Linked DNA regions of Homo sapiens: region 1 is linked to region 2. Evidence: promoter capture Hi-C in human tissues and cell types (Jung and others, 2019). All regions are on one chromosome and are shown on one strand. Each heading gives the region's core, a stretch centred on a gene start or on the middle of the fragment in contact. The rest is flanking DNA. Distances are from core to core; before and after follow the strand shown.

Evidence for each region. Contacts are between HindIII fragments. The study calls those that stand out against the background at their distance.
Region 1: a contact is called between a fragment that was not itself captured here and the fragment with the promoter of STARD3 in region 2, in 4 of the 25 tissues and cell types used here (dorsolateral prefrontal cortex, hippocampus, lymphoblastoid cells and 1 more).

The regions. Positions count from the first base shown.
Region 1 is chr17:40,073,508-40,077,202 of GRCh38, forward strand. It overlaps THRA (thyroid hormone receptor alpha), which reads left to right. Exons shown (of 9, transcript NM_199334.5): 2 at 685-1,034; 3 at 3,364-3,431. The coding sequence starts at 982. Among named protein-coding and RNA genes, the nearest start is that of THRA, 12 kb to the left of the region's middle. RefSeq lists enhancers at 1,277-2,132, 2,256-2,335. The HindIII fragment of the contact is 5,644 bases long and covers 1-3,695 here.
Region 2 is chr17:39,635,546-39,639,353 of GRCh38, forward strand. It overlaps STARD3 (StAR related lipid transfer domain containing 3), which reads left to right and starts at 1,599. Exons shown (of 15, transcript NM_006804.4): 1 at 1,599-1,686. It overlaps PPP1R1B (protein phosphatase 1 regulatory inhibitor subunit 1B), which reads left to right. Exons shown (of 7, transcript NM_032192.4): 6 at 62-181; 7 at 271-1,079. The coding sequence ends at 320. It overlaps LOC124903998 (a long non-coding RNA gene), which reads right to left and starts at 1,745. Exons shown (of 2, transcript XR_007065749.1): 1 at 1,446-1,745. RefSeq lists enhancers at 1-367, 2,151-2,270 and a silencer at 1,541-1,610. The HindIII fragment of the contact is 10,179 bases long and covers 1-3,808 here.

The sequences.
Region 1 (3,695 bases), core at 498-2,997, 440 kb after region 2:
TTCCTTTCCCCCTTGCCATCCTGGTCGATAGCAGCTCAGCTAAACCAACTGAGAAGTCTGGTCCTCTGCCTGGGAAGTGGGATTCGAGACCTTGCGTGGGAAGCTCTGGAGTCCCTGAGGGGCCAGAGTTGGGGATCATAACTTGGCTGGCAGCATGGGAGGTCAGTTCCCTACAGCTTTCAACATCTCTCTCTATTAAGGCACAAAGATGGGCATTCATGCTCACTGCGTGCCGCTCTATGTCCCATCCTTCCTTCACAGATACCCTCCCTGCCTATGCTGAAAACTGCTTGTCTCTGGTCCCCTCTTGCCCCTATAATACAGATGAGTTTCAGGAAAGCTTTTCTAGAGGGGTGGTAACAATAGCTAGTGTTTAATAGTTGCTCATTAAGGGCCAGGCATTTGTCTGAATATGAAGACTGAGACATATTACTTAGTACATGAATGATCTCATTCTCTCCCTCCATTCCTTCCCATGTCTGGGGCTTAGGAGGTGGATCTCCAATCTCGCCTGCTGTACCTGTTATCTAAGGGATCATCCTGGTCCCCTCTCTATGCCTGCCCTTCCTGCCCCCTGCTGTCTTGTTATGGGATCCCAAAGCCCCAAATGTTGCCACCAAAGGGATCCTACCCACCTTCCTACCGTGACACCTTCTTACCCCTGCCTCTCTCTTCTCTCCACAGGGATCTCTGGACAGGACAAGACTCCGAAGCTACTCCCCCAGCACACAGCCCGGGACCCACAAACCCAGCTTGCCCCCAGCCCTCCCACCTGCCACTCCCTGGCCCCTCCCACCGCCCGCCCCCCTTGGGGCGCAGGGCATGGTGTGAAAGGCCAAGTGCTGAGGCGGGTATCATGGGTGCTGTGCCCTAGGGCCTGGGTGGCAGGGGGTGGGTGGCCTGTGGGTGTGCCGGGGGGGCCAGTGTGCCCACCCCAGTCTCTTGGCGTGCTGGAGGGCATCCTGGATGGAATTGAAGTGAATGGAACAGAAGCCAAGCAAGGTGGAGTGTGGGTCAGACCCAGAGGAGAACAGGTAATGGGTTCAGCAACTAGGTCATGCCAACTCCTAAGCAGCAGGCATGGGCACCTGGCTGAGCTCTCCTTTAGGCACCGCCTTTAAGCACCTCTGTGGGATGGACGTGAGGCCAGCAAGCCTTCTGCCTACCTTTGTCTGGCAGATGAAGTCATGTTCAGATGTGACAGGCACTTGGATTGAGAGATGCTCATTTTGAAGCGGGGAGCGATACAGAGCAATTACAGGGAGCACATAAGGGGCTCTTCCCTAGACATTGCTGGGCAGTCTCAGATGCCCCCAACGTCCCTTCCACCATTGCTGCCCTTACCTTGAGCATGTGGGATCCAAACAGCCTTGCCATTTTCTTCCTCTCCCTACCAGCCCATTTACTATCTGACCACAAGTGTGTTGTCCACAAGCTGCGGTTCACGTAATACATTTCAGGGCACATGCACCAGTAACTATTGGTCATAGCCCAAGCTTATATTCGGAATCTATTGGGAGCCCCACAAGCTCTTCCTTGTTCATGGTCAAGGGCGGGCACTGCGATGGGGCTCCTCCCAGAAAGTGCACGCCAACCATGATGGTTTTGCTTCCACATGGGTGAGGTGTCAGCCCTGCACATACACCAAGGGATGGTTACCTGTGATCTGCATTGCCCTTGAGGAGCCCAGAGGGTCTCTGTCTTTTCTATCAGCTCCAAGTGGCACAGAGCTTTGTCCCAGTTGGCACGGTGCCCTGGGAGCTGGGTACAGCCTGTGCCTATGGCCAGGGAGAGGGTGGGGGTGGGGGTGCTCCGGGGAGCAGTGTGGCTGACTGTTGCCTAGGAGATCAGATCCCGAGCCAGGAAGCCAGAGGCCTGGCCAGGCAAAGCCCTAAGGCCCACAACTGGGTCCCTGGAGGGTAGAGGAAGTAGATGGAACTCACAGCTGGGCAGGGCATGGGGTAGCTCCCCTCCCCCAAAGCCTCACCCCAGGAAGGACTCTGAGGACGATCTGGCCTGTCGCTGTGTGGCTGTCACTTGCAGCCCCTGTGTCTCCCAGCTTAGGCTTCTGTGGGTCTGGAAGAGTCTGTGCTTAATGTTTGGAGAAAGGCAGGAATGCCAGTTCCCAGTCTCCTAAGACTGCAACCCCTCCCCCATCACCTTCCCCTCCCCCATGTCTATGCGCCACCTTGTGGCTATCTCTAGGACTACACTCAGAGGCTGTGAGTCTGGTGGTAACTGCTGAAGCCGCTAGCTCAACTGGGGCCTAGGTGGGCTGAGTTCCCCTGCACCCAACCCTCTGGGAGGCGTGAGGGAGACCTGACCTTTCAGCCTCATAGGAAGTAGACCGGAGTAATCCCCACGGGGCGTGGAGCATAGGGTTGTCTGTGACTGTGACCCTGGCCAAGGTCACTGTGTCAGTGTGTTGGGAGCTGCATCCGGCTCCAGGAGGAAGGGGCCTGCAACATGCCACACGCAGGGTGGGTGCGGGAGGTTATACAATCCTTGCATGCATGTAGAGGGCTTATGTAACCTGTGTGCACCGAGGTTATGCAACATGTATGTGGAGAGCCTGGCAACATATATGTGCAGTGGCTGAGGGTTGCTAATAATACGCTGCACAGAGGGGCTCAGTCCCGGCTCTGACTCTAGCTCATGGTGTCACCAGGCACAAGCAGGGTCTCAGTTTGCTGCTCTGTTAAATGGAGGCTGTGCAGAGGGTGTAGTGTTTTCTATTGCTGTGGGTTATTTAGCATGTGTGTATGACCTGGAGCTCAAGCAACACGTGCACACTGGAGGGATGAGGGTGGTTTTATGAGGTGCCTGTGCAGAGTGTTGTGTAACACATGGGCATATCCTAGAGGTTGTATAGCACATTTAAGAATGCCCTGAAAATTTCACAGGTATGTTGGCCCTGGTGCATACTCACCATCCATGGGTTTATAGTGAAGGTTGCATGGTTATTCATCTGTGCCGGTGTTATGTTGCATATGTATGTGTGTGTTCTAAAGGCTACATAGCTTTAAGCATATCCTGAGAATTCTTCCAGCGTATTCGTCATGTACTGAAAGATGAGGATGTCCTGCAGATTATGGGTGCTTCAGGTCTTCTGGCGGGTGAATGTGTGTGTGTTGGGGCTCTAGAATATGCTTGTGCCACAGCCAAGCCCCTTATCTCTCTCCCCTGCAACTTCCAGATAACTGGACCCTTTTAAGCATTGTCAGCTGACCCTGGGGGGTGGGAGGTAGAATGAGGACACAAAATGGAAAGAATCAGGCCTTGGGGGATTGCATAAGCCTCTCGGATGAGAAAGGGGCTACTCGAAGACTGCTCTGTGATTCTGCCCACTTTGCCTCCATCCAGTGCCAGGTCACCAGATGGAAAGCGAAAAAGAAAGAACGGCCAATGTTCCCTGAAAACCAGCATGTCAGGTGAGGCTGGCTGTGCGTGCCCCTTCTCCACGTCCCCAACCCCACCAAACCCAGCCAGGGCTCCTCTGGACCTGGATGTGGAACAGTAATTCATGTGTTCCCTGGGGGGAGCCTCCTAGAGGGCTTGGGATGGACTTGTCTGGGGGTGAGAAAGGTAATGTGGGATGTGCCCAGCTTTTGAGGGTGGATTAGGTCAGGACGGCCTCTTCCCTCTTCCCCTAATACCCTCATCTGAGGCCCTACCAGAATCAGGGCCTGAGCTGA
Region 2 (3,808 bases), core at 349-2,848:
TCCAGGACAGCCGGATGGATACGCAGAGCCTGTGTTCTTATCTCTTCTTTCCCATCCCCAGCTGGGCAAAAGACAACCTGTGGCCAGGGTCTGGAAGGGCCCTGGGAGCGCCCACCCCCTCTGGATGAGTCCGAGAGAGATGGAGGCTCTGAGGACCAAGTGGAAGACCCAGCACTAAGTGGTAAGGCTTGGGAGTGTGAAATGGGGAGGAGGGGCTGGGATCTTGGTGGGTGGGGCCAGGCCCTGAGTCCCTCTCTGCTTGCCTTTCAGAGCCTGGGGAGGAACCTCAGCGCCCTTCCCCCTCTGAGCCTGGCACATAGGCACCCAGCCTGCATCTCCCAGGAGGAAGTGGAGGGGACATCGCTGTTCCCCAGAAACCCACTCTATCCTCACCCTGTTTTGTGCTCTTCCCCTCGCCTGCTAGGGCTGCGGCTTCTGACTTCTAGAAGACTAAGGCTGGTCTGTGTTTGCTTGTTTGCCCACCTTTGGCTGATACCCAGAGAACCTGGGCACTTGCTGCCTGATGCCCACCCCTGCCAGTCATTCCTCCATTCACCCAGCGGGAGGTGGGATGTGAGACAGCCCACATTGGAAAATCCAGAAAACCGGGAACAGGGATTTGCCCTTCACAATTCTACTCCCCAGATCCTCTCCCCTGGACACAGGAGACCCACAGGGCAGGACCCTAAGATCTGGGGAAAGGAGGTCCTGAGAACCTTGAGGTACCCTTAGATCCTTTTCTACCCACTTTCCTATGGAGGATTCCAAGTCACCACTTCTCTCACCGGCTTCTACCAGGGTCCAGGACTAAGGCGTTTTTCTCCATAGCCTCAACATTTTGGGAATCTTCCCTTAATCACCCTTGCTCCTCCTGGGTGCCTGGAAGATGGACTGGCAGAGACCTCTTTGTTGCGTTTTGTGCTTTGATGCCAGGAATGCCGCCTAGTTTATGTCCCCGGTGGGGCACACAGCGGGGGGCGCCAGGTTTTCCTTGTCCCCCAGCTGCTCTGCCCCTTTCCCCTTCTTCCCTGACTCCAGGCCTGAACCCCTCCCGTGCTGTAATAAATCTTTGTAAATAACTGCTGAGACTCCTCTTTCAGGGGAAGCAGGAGGAAAAGGGAGGTAATGGGGCGTCCTGATAGGGAAGGCCGGTGGTCAACCAAGGGTTAGGGTTTTGACCCTACTGTCCAATCCTCTAGTCTAGGAGTCTTTCTGGCAGACAGCAGGCTCGGGGCACTCAGAGGAAGAACTACAGAAGTTCTAGCTGCTGCTTGGGATGGCTGAAGGAGGCAGGTGGGGTGGGGAAGTCCTTCTCGAATAACTGGATTCCTCCAAAGATTTCCCCATCCCCACAGGACTCCCCTCGGGAAATTCCCCTTTTTCCCTCAGTGCCAGGCCTGTGTGGCCTAATAACGACGGCCCTGGTCTTCTTCCCACTCCCCTACCCTTAGGTAGGCCCTTAGACTCCGGCCTTTGAGTCCGCTTCTGCGCAGGGCCGGGGCTGGAGGCGGGGCGAAGGGGCGGGGCCGCAGGCGAACGCAAGTCCCGCTTCGCTCTCGGGGGCGGACTCAGCGGCGGAAGTGGCGCTGCCGGAAGATCTTCTTCCGCTCTGAGGCGCTACTGAGGCCGCGGAGCCGGACTGCGGTTGGGGCGGGAAGAGCCGGGGCCGTGGCTGACATGGAGCAGGTGGGTCCCGGAGCGGTCGCTGGGAGCGGGTGGCGTGCGAGGGCCGTCTTCCGCCGGTCGAACCCGCTTCGCCGCCCGCTGTCCGTGCTGGGTTCCGTCCGACCCTTCCCACACCCGCTGCGTCTCAGGTTCCGCCCCCTTCCTCTGTCTGGCCTCGCGCCGCCCCGCGCGGGTTGGGGTCTCCAGCAATGACTCTTGGCGACCCCGCCTATCCTGGGGAGCCCGGGGAGGACGTTCGGGATCTCCTTCCAAAGCCTCCGTCTTAACTGAGGGGAGAGGAGAGGGTGAGGTGTCTGGGTGTTATGAGCAGGGGCAGGTATGGGGAGGGGTCGGAATCTGGGGTGAGAGGAAAACATCTACGCATTCCGGTAGCTCTGCGTCTCAGTGTCATCCCGTGTCTCCCCAACTTCCTTTCGAAACGGCCGTGAATAACTTCCTAATTGGTATTAAAAGGGCCCTTTGAAGTCTTGAGTTCTTAGAGGTGCATAGTACCATTGACACTCATTTCTAATGACACGTTCCCTCACCCCGCATTTTTGGGTTAGTCAATGTCTCCTGGTTTTCTTCGTACCGCTCTGACAGTCGGTCAAAGTCCCGCTTCACGTTTTCCTCTGTCGCCCAACCCCTCGCTCTGTACACTGAATCTCAGTGGTCTTATTTTCCCCCACGGCTTCAGCTTTACACCAACTAAATACCCAGATCCACATCTTCAGCGCAGCCCTTCCCTGGAGCTCCACGCTTGCCCATCCAGCGGCCATTGGGACAGCTCTGCTTCACATGGAGCTCACTGGGTCCAAACTTGAACTGGTCTTTTCCTTGCAGATTAATTCTTCCTCTACCCCAACCCAGCCGGAAGTCTGGTAATTTCCTTACACTTTCTCCTCTCTTTCAAGTCCCACATCTTAAAAGTGACCTAGTACTGCCAACTTCCTGAACATCCTTCAAACCTGGGCCAGCTCCATCTCTTCTGTTACCACGCTGTTGATGTATTGTCAATTCCCAACAGTCCAGCCCTGGCAGCTTGCAACCCAGTCTCCAAACTGTAACTCTTGTGATCCTTTTAGAACACAAGTCTTACGGTGCCAGTTCCTTGCTGATAACCTTTTTCTGGCTTTCTATTGCCTATGTGCTGAACCCCTAGCACAATTTACACAGCTCTCTGTGATCTGACCTAGCAGTCTCCTGTGTGCACCCTAAGGTCCAATAATACGGCACTGCAGCATGCGCCATGCCTACCCTTGCTGTTCGTATCTTCATGACTTTGCACACACCAGCCCCCGCTGCTTGGAAACCTCCTCCTTCTCTTGTCTGCTGGGCTACCTTCTACATGTTTTTCAGCGCAGGCAGCGCTGCCTCCGCCTAACCCCCAAGGTTAATTGCCCTTCTGTGTCCTGTAGCACCCTGTCCATAATAGCATAGTAGCTGAGAATACAGACTCCTGGATCAGACTGCCTGGGTTCTGACCTGTTTGGTAACCTTGATGAAGTCAGTGCCTCAATTTCCTCACTTGTAAAATGGAGGTAGGAATGTCTCTACTTCATAGAGTTGTGAGGATTGAATGGAATATTGTATGTTTAGGTCTTAAACCAGTGCTAGGCACAAGAATGCTCAATAAATTAAAGTGAGTTGCCTGGGTGCAGTGGCTCATGCATTAATCCTAGTACTTTGGGAGGCAAGGCAGGATGATCGCTTGAGGCCAGGGGTTTGCAACTAGCTTGGGCAACATAGTGAGACCCCATCGCTACAAAAATTTAAAAAACTAGCTGAGCATGGTGGTACGTGTGGGAGGATCCTTTGAGCCCAGGAATTTGAAGTTACAACGAGATATGGTTGTGCCACTGCACTCTAGTGTGAGGGACAGAGTGAGATCCTGTTTCTAAAATAAATAAATAAAAAGTTATTACTATTATGTAAGGACAACATAGTTCACCAGTTATGATTTTTAATTTCATAAGTTGCCTGAGGATGGTTGAAGTGGCTTACTAGTCATTGGATAGAGCCTGGCTCTTTGCCAATAAATAAAATGCTGGAGTGGAGGACACTGGGGGCAGGGTCTGGATTTATTGAGTGAAGATTCAAGAGTGAAAAAGGCTCAGACCTGGTCTGCTCAGGAAAACCAGTC